Regions from separate parts of the Homo sapiens genome. Here regions 2 and 3 are each linked to region 1. The links are contacts of gene promoters, found by promoter capture Hi-C in human tissues and cell types (Jung and others, 2019). All regions are on one chromosome and are shown on one strand. Each heading gives the region's core, a stretch centred on a gene start or on the middle of the fragment in contact. The rest is flanking DNA. Distances are from core to core; before and after follow the strand shown. Region 1 holds the start of ATG2A (autophagy related 2A). Region 2 overlaps MALAT1 (metastasis associated lung adenocarcinoma transcript 1). Region 3 holds the start of SIPA1 (signal-induced proliferation-associated 1).

What was found. Contacts are between HindIII fragments. The study calls those that stand out against the background at their distance.
Region 2: a contact is called between a fragment that was not itself captured here and the fragment with the promoter of ATG2A in region 1, in 1 of the 25 tissues and cell types used here (dorsolateral prefrontal cortex).
Region 3: a contact is called between the fragment with the promoter of SIPA1 here and the fragment with the promoter of ATG2A in region 1, in 1 of the 25 tissues and cell types used here (spleen).

Annotation. Positions count from the first base shown.
Region 1 is chr11:64,915,792-64,919,421 of GRCh38, forward strand. ATG2A (autophagy related 2A) reads right to left here and starts at 1,418. Exons shown (of 41, transcript NM_015104.3): 1 at 1,174-1,418. The coding sequence starts at 1,344. It also overlaps a transcript of PPP2R5B not described here. RefSeq lists a silencer at 1,330-1,639 and an enhancer at 1,690-1,819. The HindIII fragment of the contact is 28,686 bases long and covers 1-3,630 here.
Region 2 is chr11:65,499,507-65,503,237 of GRCh38, forward strand. MALAT1 (metastasis associated lung adenocarcinoma transcript 1) reads left to right here. Exons shown (of 1, transcript NR_002819.5): 1 at 1-3,731. It also overlaps TALAM1. Among named protein-coding and RNA genes, the nearest start is that of MALAT1, 2.3 kb to the left of the region's middle. RefSeq lists an enhancer at 933-1,062. The HindIII fragment of the contact is 4,315 bases long and covers 1-3,484 here.
Region 3 is chr11:65,636,851-65,640,410 of GRCh38, forward strand. SIPA1 (signal-induced proliferation-associated 1) reads left to right here and starts at 1,251. Exons shown (of 16, transcript NM_006747.4): 1 at 1,251-1,332. It overlaps PCNX3 (pecanex 3), which reads left to right. Exons shown (of 35, transcript NM_032223.4): 35 at 1-589. The coding sequence ends at 128. RefSeq lists enhancers at 72-862, 1,814-1,883 and a silencer at 1,094-1,463. The HindIII fragment of the contact is 7,218 bases long and covers 1-3,560 here.

The DNA.
Region 1 (3,630 bases), core at 168-2,667:
AGCGAAATCCTGTCTCTATAAAAATAAAAAAGGGGCAGCCTAGAGACGGCCTTAGAGGCTGAGGCTAAGGTTAGAGGTCAGAGAGGGCTTCCTACACCAGAATTCACAGACAGCAGGCCACTGGGGGGTGCCCCCAGTTCAGGGCCCACGATTATCCTACCCCACATTTGCTCACCAGGGCCTGGCCTACCCCCAAAGCCTAGCTCTTCTGCCCAGATTAGCAGCCCCCTGAGTCCAGCCACAAAACTGAGAAGTCCCTGCCTCCATGCCCACCCCTGCTGCTCTGGACCTGGTGGATCGACCAGGACGCGCCTCTAATTGGTGGCTCCTTCAAAGCTCCCCAGGTCAGCTGAGCTGTGAGTCAGGGCTCCTCACCGTTCCCAGCCTCAAGCCTCTGACCTTACACCTCTTGGCCTCCCTAGCATCTCCCTTGGCCTCCTCCCGGCTTGAAGCCAGATCTCCCCACCTTTCCTCCAGGGCCTCCCTCCAGGCAGGGACACTGAGCCGGGGGGGTCGGTGGGAGATGTAGGTGGGGGCCATCCAGTCCCTCCCTAGACACCCACTTGGCCCATCCCACTCTCCCAAAAGCAGGAAGTAGGCAGCGACCCAGGCACACGAGGTGTTGATCAACACTGGTACTGACGTACTGACGCGGTTGTTGACATACACATCCGGTGGTTTGTTGATCCCACCTACGGGCTCAGGACCGTGGGGTCAAGAGGTCAGGGCACATGATCCACAGGTGTCCTCGCCAGGGCTCCGGACCCCTACCAGCTTCCCCCACCAGCTGCGCAGGCCCAAGTCTGTCACTGCCCTGGCCCAGCTCAGTTCCTACGCTCCCTCCCCAGCCCCTCCTCAGCCCGAGAGCCAACCTCCTTAACTCAGCCCCCAAACTCGACGAGTTTGTCTTGCATTCTCCAGACAGGTGATCTTGCCCTCTCCAGCCTCAGTTTCTCCTCCCGTGGAGACAGAAACCCCTTCCCGCTCAGTTTCTGGCTCTGGTAAGGAACTGAAGAGGCCAGCCGGGGTGCCTCTGACGCCTGGAGAGGGCAAGATTCCCCTGGCCTCTCTACGCCCGGTGCCTGATCCCCCAGCCCGATCCTGCCGCAGGGAGCCTCAGGTCGCTGCGCTCCCACCCTCCGCACCTTCCTGGACTCGGGCCTGGCTCCTCACCCAGATTTCCAGGTGGATGTCTCGCAGGGCAACGCTGCCCTTGTACAGATCGAGGCTGAGCTGGTCCAGGCTGAGGTGCTCTTGGAAGAAGTGACCTAAGTAGTGGTGCAGCAAGTAGCGGCAGACCCGCTCTTTCACACAGTTTGACCATGGCCACAGCCATCGTGACATCTCGGAGACCGCCGGGCCTGGGCCGCCTCCGCTTGCCGCCCGCCGGCGATCCCCGTCCGGCTCCGCTGTTCACTAGAGCCCCCGGCTCGCCCCGCCGCTTCTCTAGGCGCCAGGCCGCGCCTCCGGACGCCCAGCCACGCCCCCTACGCTCACTGTCATTGGCTATTGCAAAGGGCGAGGCCTACTGATTGGCTGCGCGGGGCGGAGCCTTCGGGCGCGAAAAAGGGACTGGGCTCTCTGCATGATATAGGGCTCTCAATCATGATTTACGCTTGCGTAAAGTACTGTGTGGGAGGACCTTTAACCTCCCCTCTACAGGCTCTGGGAAGGCTGTTGCTCCAGGTGCCGGCCCCTCAAAGGAATGCGCATGTGCTGATTCGTCCAACCACTTTAAGTGGTTGGGGAGGATTTAAAGGGACAGTGTCCCATCAAACTTCGTAGAAGCCTTCCCCAGAGGAGTAAACTCAGTGCGCGATCTTAAGCGCGCATCTGTGGAAACAATTAAGTGAGTAAACATTCGCATTTTGCAAAATCTTTTACCATCCTTTATCTCATTGAGCCCTCTTAATAATCGCTCAAGGTAGGGATTATTGCCACCGCTTTACAGGTAAGAAAACAGATTAAGATACGAGAAAGACCCTGCCTCAAAAACAAACAAAAATAAATAAGGGCTCTGAATCCATCACCAAGGAAGGTCTTTTTTCCCCTCCTCACCCCGGAATGCTCAGAGGGAGATTAACTGACCCTCCCTTCTCTCTGCCGTCGGTCAGGCCTTAGGCACCTCTCTGAAATAATAATAGCTTTTCATATCTCTAGTCCTAAAATCAAAGAATGGATTCTGCCTCCTTTAAGCAGGGGGGCATTGTTTTTGTACGGCCTTTGAGCTAAGTATGGTTTTTATGTCTTTTAAATGGTTAGGGGAAAAATCAAAAGAAGAATGAACTTTTCATGGCATGTGAAAAATCATATGAAATTCACATTCCAGTGTTTATACATAACGTTTTAGTGTCACACAGTCTTGCTCATTTGCTTAAGTTCTGCCCCGGGCTGCTTTCTTGCTACAAGAGCAGAATTCAGTACTTGAGACAGAGGCCTGCAAAGCCTAAAATATTTATTTTCTGGCCCTTCACAGAAAAAGTTTGCCAACCGCTGCTCTGTAGGGGGCAGCCACACAAAACCTCTTACATCATGGGCGACTTCAGGAACAGCCATAGGTAATTATGTTTCTTTTCTTTTCTTTTTGAGACAGACTCTCTCTGTCACCTAGGCTGGAGTGCAGTGGCACAATCTTGGCTCACTGCAACCTCTGCCTCCTGGGTTCAAATGATTCTGCTGCCTTGGCCTCCCAGAGTAGCTGGGATTACAGGCATGCACCACCGCACCCAGCTAATTACCGTGTTGGGCAGGCTGGTCTCGAACTCCTGACCTTAGGTGATCAGCCTGCCTTGGCCTCCCAAAGTGTTGGGATTACAGGCACGAGCCACCGTGCCCGGCCTATGTTTCTATTTTATTTATTTTTTTTGAGACAGAGTCTTGCTCTGTTGCCCAGGCTGGAGTGCAGTGGTGCAGTCTCCTCTCACGCAACCTCTGGCTCCTGGGTTCAAGGAATTCCTGAGTAGCTGGGATTACAGGTGTGAGCTACCCCACCTAGCCTGTGTTTCTATTTTAATCTTACTTGGGAGCTGGACTCTTACATTCTAATGCCAAAACTCAGCCTGAAGCAAGGGCAACCGCCCTGGCCCACCGGGCAGGGACCTGTATTCCAGTCCCACCCATGGGTGGTTTCTTCTCCTCTTGTGACCCTCAGTTTTATCCTATGTAACTGGGGTTGGGTTAGTAAGTGGAGATAGTTCATTACCTGGAAGGAGCAGGCTCCATTCAGGGAGGCAGGCTGATAGGACAGCCATTCAGAAAGTGCTTATGGGCCAGGCACGGTGGCTCATGCCTGTAATCCCAGCACTTTGGGAGGCCAAGGCGGGTGGATCATGAGGTCAGGAAATCGAGACCACCCTGGCTAACACAGTGAAACCCCATCTCTACTAAAAAATATTTAAAAAATTAGCAGAGTGTGATGGCGGGCGCCTGTAGTCCCAGCTACTCGGGAGGCTGAGGCAGGAGAATGGTGTGAACCTGGGAGGCGGAGCTTGTGGTGAGCCAAGTTTGTGCCACTGCACTCCAGCCTGGCTGACAGAGCGAGATTCTGTCTCAAAAAAAAAAAAAGAAGAAACTGCTTGTGGAAGGAATCTAGAGCTCTGCCTTCTTCCATGGCAGGCTGGGGGCAGTACT
Region 2 (3,731 bases), core at 77-2,576, 580 kb after region 1:
CCGAAGGTGATTAAAAGACCTTGAAATCCATGACGCAGGGAGAATTGCGTCATTTAAAGCCTAGTTAACGCATTTACTAAACGCAGACGAAAATGGAAAGATTAATTGGGAGTGGTAGGATGAAACAATTTGGAGAAGATAGAAGTTTGAAGTGGAAAACTGGAAGACAGAAGTACGGGAAGGCGAAGAAAAGAATAGAGAAGATAGGGAAATTAGAAGATAAAAACATACTTTTAGAAGAAAAAAGATAAATTTAAACCTGAAAAGTAGGAAGCAGAAGAAAAAAGACAAGCTAGGAAACAAAAAGCTAAGGGCAAAATGTACAAACTTAGAAGAAAATTGGAAGATAGAAACAAGATAGAAAATGAAAATATTGTCAAGAGTTTCAGATAGAAAATGAAAAACAAGCTAAGACAAGTATTGGAGAAGTATAGAAGATAGAAAAATATAAAGCCAAAAATTGGATAAAATAGCACTGAAAAAATGAGGAAATTATTGGTAACCAATTTATTTTAAAAGCCCATCAATTTAATTTCTGGTGGTGCAGAAGTTAGAAGGTAAAGCTTGAGAAGATGAGGGTGTTTACGTAGACCAGAACCAATTTAGAAGAATACTTGAAGCTAGAAGGGGAAGTTGGTTAAAAATCACATCAAAAAGCTACTAAAAGGACTGGTGTAATTTAAAAAAAACTAAGGCAGAAGGCTTTTGGAAGAGTTAGAAGAATTTGGAAGGCCTTAAATATAGTAGCTTAGTTTGAAAAATGTGAAGGACTTTCGTAACGGAAGTAATTCAAGATCAAGAGTAATTACCAACTTAATGTTTTTGCATTGGACTTTGAGTTAAGATTATTTTTTAAATCCTGAGGACTAGCATTAATTGACAGCTGACCCAGGTGCTACACAGAAGTGGATTCAGTGAATCTAGGAAGACAGCAGCAGACAGGATTCCAGGAACCAGTGTTTGATGAAGCTAGGACTGAGGAGCAAGCGAGCAAGCAGCAGTTCGTGGTGAAGATAGGAAAAGAGTCCAGGAGCCAGTGCGATTTGGTGAAGGAAGCTAGGAAGAAGGAAGGAGCGCTAACGATTTGGTGGTGAAGCTAGGAAAAAGGATTCCAGGAAGGAGCGAGTGCAATTTGGTGATGAAGGTAGCAGGCGGCTTGGCTTGGCAACCACACGGAGGAGGCGAGCAGGCGTTGTGCGTAGAGGATCCTAGACCAGCATGCCAGTGTGCCAAGGCCACAGGGAAAGCGAGTGGTTGGTAAAAATCCGTGAGGTCGGCAATATGTTGTTTTTCTGGAACTTACTTATGGTAACCTTTTATTTATTTTCTAATATAATGGGGGAGTTTCGTACTGAGGTGTAAAGGGATTTATATGGGGACGTAGGCCGATTTCCGGGTGTTGTAGGTTTCTCTTTTTCAGGCTTATACTCATGAATCTTGTCTGAAGCTTTTGAGGGCAGACTGCCAAGTCCTGGAGAAATAGTAGATGGCAAGTTTGTGGGTTTTTTTTTTTTACACGAATTTGAGGAAAACCAAATGAATTTGATAGCCAAATTGAGACAATTTCAGCAAATCTGTAAGCAGTTTGTATGTTTAGTTGGGGTAATGAAGTATTTCAGTTTTGTGAATAGATGACCTGTTTTTACTTCCTCACCCTGAATTCGTTTTGTAAATGTAGAGTTTGGATGTGTAACTGAGGCGGGGGGGAGTTTTCAGTATTTTTTTTTGTGGGGGTGGGGGCAAAATATGTTTTCAGTTCTTTTTCCCTTAGGTCTGTCTAGAATCCTAAAGGCAAATGACTCAAGGTGTAACAGAAAACAAGAAAATCCAATATCAGGATAATCAGACCACCACAGGTTTACAGTTTATAGAAACTAGAGCAGTTCTCACGTTGAGGTCTGTGGAAGAGATGTCCATTGGAGAAATGGCTGGTAGTTACTCTTTTTTCCCCCCACCCCCTTAATCAGACTTTAAAAGTGCTTAACCCCTTAAACTTGTTATTTTTTACTTGAAGCATTTTGGGATGGTCTTAACAGGGAAGAGAGAGGGTGGGGGAGAAAATGTTTTTTTCTAAGATTTTCCACAGATGCTATAGTACTATTGACAAACTGGGTTAGAGAAGGAGTGTACCGCTGTGCTGTTGGCACGAACACCTTCAGGGACTGGAGCTGCTTTTATCCTTGGAAGAGTATTCCCAGTTGAAGCTGAAAAGTACAGCACAGTGCAGCTTTGGTTCATATTCAGTCATCTCAGGAGAACTTCAGAAGAGCTTGAGTAGGCCAAATGTTGAAGTTAAGTTTTCCAATAATGTGACTTCTTAAAAGTTTTATTAAAGGGGAGGGGCAAATATTGGCAATTAGTTGGCAGTGGCCTGTTACGGTTGGGATTGGTGGGGTGGGTTTAGGTAATTGTTTAGTTTATGATTGCAGATAAACTCATGCCAGAGAACTTAAAGTCTTAGAATGGAAAAAGTAAAGAAATATCAACTTCCAAGTTGGCAAGTAACTCCCAATGATTTAGTTTTTTTCCCCCCAGTTTGAATTGGGAAGCTGGGGGAAGTTAAATATGAGCCACTGGGTGTACCAGTGCATTAATTTGGGCAAGGAAAGTGTCATAATTTGATACTGTATCTGTTTTCCTTCAAAGTATAGAGCTTTTGGGGAAGGAAAGTATTGAACTGGGGGTTGGTCTGGCCTACTGGGCTGACATTAACTACAATTATGGGAAATGCAAAAGTTGTTTGGATATGGTAGTGTGTGGTTCTCTTTTGGAATTTTTTTCAGGTGATTTAATAATAATTTAAAACTACTATAGAAACTGCAGAGCAAAGGAAGTGGCTTAATGATCCTGAAGGGATTTCTTCTGATGGTAGCTTTTGTATTATCAAGTAAGATTCTATTTTCAGTTGTGTGTAAGCAAGTTTTTTTTTAGTGTAGGAGAAATACTTTTCCATTGTTTAACTGCAAAACAAGATGTTAAGGTATGCTTCAAAAATTTTGTAAATTGTTTATTTTAAACTTATCTGTTTGTAAATTGTAACTGATTAAGAATTGTGATAGTTCAGCTTGAATGTCTCTTAGAGGGTGGGCTTTTGTTGATGAGGGAGGGGAAACTTTTTTTTTTTCTATAGACTTTTTTCAGATAACATCTTCTGAGTCATAACCAGCCTGGCAGTATGATGGCCTAGATGCAGAGAAAACAGCTCCTTGGTGAATTGATAAGTAAAGGCAGAAAAGATTATATGTCATACCTCCATTGGGGAATAAGCATAACCCTGAGATTCTTACTACTGATGAGAACATTATCTGCATATGCCAAAAAATTTTAAGCAAATGAAAGCTACCAATTTAAAGTTACGGAATCTACCATTTTAAAGTTAATTGCTTGTCAAGCTATAACCACAAAAATAATGAATTGATGAGAAATACAATGAAGAGGCAATGTCCATCTCAAAATACTGCTTTTACAAAAGCAGAATAAAAGCGAAAAGAAATGAAAATGTTACACTACATTAATCCTGGAATAAAAGAAGCCGAAATAAATGAGAGATGAGTTGGGATCAAGTGGATTGAGGAGGCTGTGCTGTGTGCCAATGTTTCGTTTGCCTCAGACAGGTATCTCTTCGTTATCAGAAGAGTTGCTTCATTTCATCTGGGAGCAGAAAACAGCAGGCAGCTGTTAACAGATAAGTTTAACTTGCATCTGCAGTATTGCATGTTAGGGATAAGTGC
Region 3 (3,560 bases), core at 1-2,500, 720 kb after region 1:
ACATTCCTTGCTTGGACAGCAGTGCCCCTGAGAGTGGCACACCTATGGGTGCCCTGGGCGACTGGCCTGCCCCTATTGAGGAGCGTGAGAGCCCGGCAGCCCAGCCCCTGCTGGAACACCAGTACTGAGCTACCTGGCGCCCACTGGACCACCTCCTAGGATTCAGTAACGGACCTGCTCTGCTGCCTCTCTGCTGGACCACAGAACTGAGTGGCTTTGGCCTACATGTCTGAACCCTGACCTTTGGCTGCCTTGGCCAGAGTACCAAAACTGAGTGACCCAGACCTCTGACCTTGACCCCTGATCTCTCTCATCCCCAGTCCAGGGCCTGGGCTCCCCAGATGGAGGCAGTCAGCCTCCCAGCCAGGCCCTAAGAGCCAAACCATGGGCTGGTCCCACTTGGAGCCTGTGGCCAGGACCACCTCAGCCCCTGGGCCTGCACTGCCTGCAGGTGTGGCCCCCTTGGCCTGGACCTGGGGCCTGAATTGTGGGAAGGGTGGTTTCTTTCTTTCCTTTTTTTTCTTTTCTTTTTTTTTTTTTTTTTTGTGCTTCGGAGACATCAGAATTAATAACACTATTTTTGATTTTGGTTGGCAGTTTCTTTTTCTACCTGGGAATGGGTACATGATAGTACAGGCGGCTAAGTTGGGATGGACAAGCACGCAGAGGGGTGAAGGATGTGGGGCTGAAGTCTAGTAGAGATCAAGGGCAGACCAAGGTGGGGTTCAGGTAGAACCGGGTCCTCTTCACCGCATGGCTGCTCCCTTTTCAAGCCTTTATCTGAAGGGTATTGTCTGCCATTTCCCACCATATGGTCAGACTTCCAGGTCTGGTGGCTCCTACATTTATCAGGCTTGTTCTTGGCCAAAGCCTTTCTCTGCACCTCAGCTGCTCCAGGGCGTAAAGAGATGACACCTATCTAAGGTGTTTTTAGAATAAATGAGAGCGCGCTAGTGGAATGGTTGCCCAGGGCCCAGTGCTTAGCAAGTGCTCCATAAAATAGTGGCAGACTCTTGAGCACCTGCTGGCCGGGAGCTGGACGCTAGGTGGCCTCCGCTAGCCCTCCCGGTTGGTCTGGAAGGCAGGCACAAGTTTCTCAGGAGAGGAAATGGCCTTAGAATGAGCACTGCTCGGTGCTGACCTCCGCCAGGCCTGGAATCCCCGCTGCTGCGCTTCCCGCCGCAGACAGCTCCCGGCCGGCCCCGCCTCCCGGCATGGCCCCGCCTCCCAGCATGGCCCCGCCCCCAGGCGGAGCCGGCGCCGGGAGCGGTAGCGGGAGAGCGGCAGCGGGACCCCAGCGCGGGCGGCGGCGGCTGGGCGGGAGCCCCAGAGGTACTGGCGGGAGCAGGGGACGGGAGGCACTACTGTCGGGCCCGACAGGGGAGAGGTGGCCTAGCCGTGGGCCCGGGTGATGTGTATGGGAGTGGGGTCCTCGCCACGTTCGCCGCCAGCACCCTCCCAACTTCCCTCCGGGCTCCAGCTCAGTCCCGAGTCAATATGTCCAGCCCCCTGTCTCTGACCAGCCGTTCCTACTCTCTCTGTGTGACGGCTTAGCCTGGCCAGCCAGCCGGTGAGTGGAAGCGGCGGCTCCTGACTCCTGGTGGCGGCACTGTGACCCCCTCCCCCTCAACACTGCAAGTGTGTGCGGGGCTCCCCCTTATTCTGAGGCTCCTCTTCTTCTTAGGCGGCCTCCACCCCAGTCCCTGGCCTGGCCTGGGAGGAAACATCTGTCGCGCCCCCTGGCAGCCGAAATGGGGTCATGACCTCCAGATGTGCTGGGAAGTGGCCAGCTCCTCCTCCTGGGGCAGCCAGGCCTTCCGGATCTGTGGGGGCGGGGCCGGCCCTTTCCCCCCACCCCTAGTGACACAGGCCCGGAGGAATGTCCTAGCCTCAATGGACCCTGTGTGAAGCTTCAGGGTGGGGGGCAGAGCCCGAGAACACCCCTCAAGGCAGCGCCAGAGCCTGGCACTGGGCCACAGCAAGAGGCAGCGCACAGGCTGGGTGCACACATGCACAGATCTCACTTCCAAGCGTGCAGAGCTCAGCCCACAAGGAGCGGGGCTTGCACAGACCCCCTCCCTCATGCCCTCCTACTCCTTCACACACTATAGCCCAGGCCCGAGCGCTGAATGTGCCCAGAGCTTGGCTCATGGAGCCAGGGGCTACACCCGTCACACACACACATAGCTAGCGACACTCACCTCATTCTTCTCAGTCTCTCAGCAGCCTTGGGAGGGGACAGAAATAATTAAACCCAATTTTTTTCTTTGTTTTTTTGGAGACAGTCTCACTCTGTCCCGCAGGCTGGAGTTCAGTGGCGCGATCTCGGCTCACTGCAACCTCTGCCTCCCAGGTTTAAGCGATTCTCCTGCCTCAGCCTCCTGAGTGGCTGGGACTACAGGTGCGCACCACCACACCCGGCTAATTTTTATGTTTTTAGTAGAGACAGGGTTTCACCATGTTAGCTAGGCTGGTCTTGAACTCCTGACCTCAGGTGATCCCCCCGCCTTGGCCTCCCAAAGTGCTGGGATTACAGGCCACAGCCACCGCACCCGGCCAGTTAACCCCATTTTAGAGATGAGAAAACAGAGGCTCAAGGTCAGCATGGGAGTTTATTCAGGAGAAATCAAGGTAGAAGCACCTGGGCTGGGGAGCCGACTCTTGCTTGGTTCTGGAGGCCCCAGACGAAGGGTGTGTGGAGCCCCTCCTCCACCCCCCTCCGGCCCAGCCCCGCATGATGTTGCTGGATGCTGCATGAAGACCCACCATTAGATGCCTGTACCCCCAGTGGAGGTTCCCCAGCTCCCTGTCCTCACTGCCTACTCCATCCAGGGCTTGCCTGGGTGTGGCTTCCCTCAAGTTCTCACACCACCATTTGCACCTGCCTCTGGCGTCACGTTTCCGCACTTAGCAGGTCCCTGGGGCTTTGGGTGTCTCAATCTTGCATCCTGTGAGACCTTGAACCTCAGCCCAACACCCACCCCCCAAAACCTACGCACACAGACAGCAGTGGGCAGGTGCAGCCCTGCTTAGGGCCTGGAGATGGGCAGACCCAGGCTCACATCCTAGCTCTGACACGGAATTGCTTCAGGCAAGAGCATCTCCTCTGGACCTCATCTGACCATCTGTCACATGGGGTTCAGACCTCCCTGTCTGCATCAGTGAGACCAGGTAGGCAGAGGTCCCTATGGGTCCCTGTCATTGTGACTCCTCTTGCCCCCAAGCCTGGGCACAGTAGCCTGCAAGAAGGTGAGTTGGCCTGTCCTTCAGGGCAGGGTGACTGGGGTCCCATGACAGCTGCTGTGACCCCAGCACCTTCCTCAGGATGTGGGGGCCTGGCAGAGGGCTGGGCCCACAGTTGGGGCTACTTCCTGTGCTGAAGGAAGTCCTCTTGCCATTCCTGCTGCCCTGCCGCTGCCTCCCTGGGAACCCATGTGTCCTTGTGGTATTGAGGCCTTGAGGTCCAGGGCACTGAGATCAGACCTCTCTGGGTGATCAGCTCTCCAGGGACCCTGAAGGAAGTGGGAGGGGCAAGGAGGAAGGTCTCTGGGGACAGGACG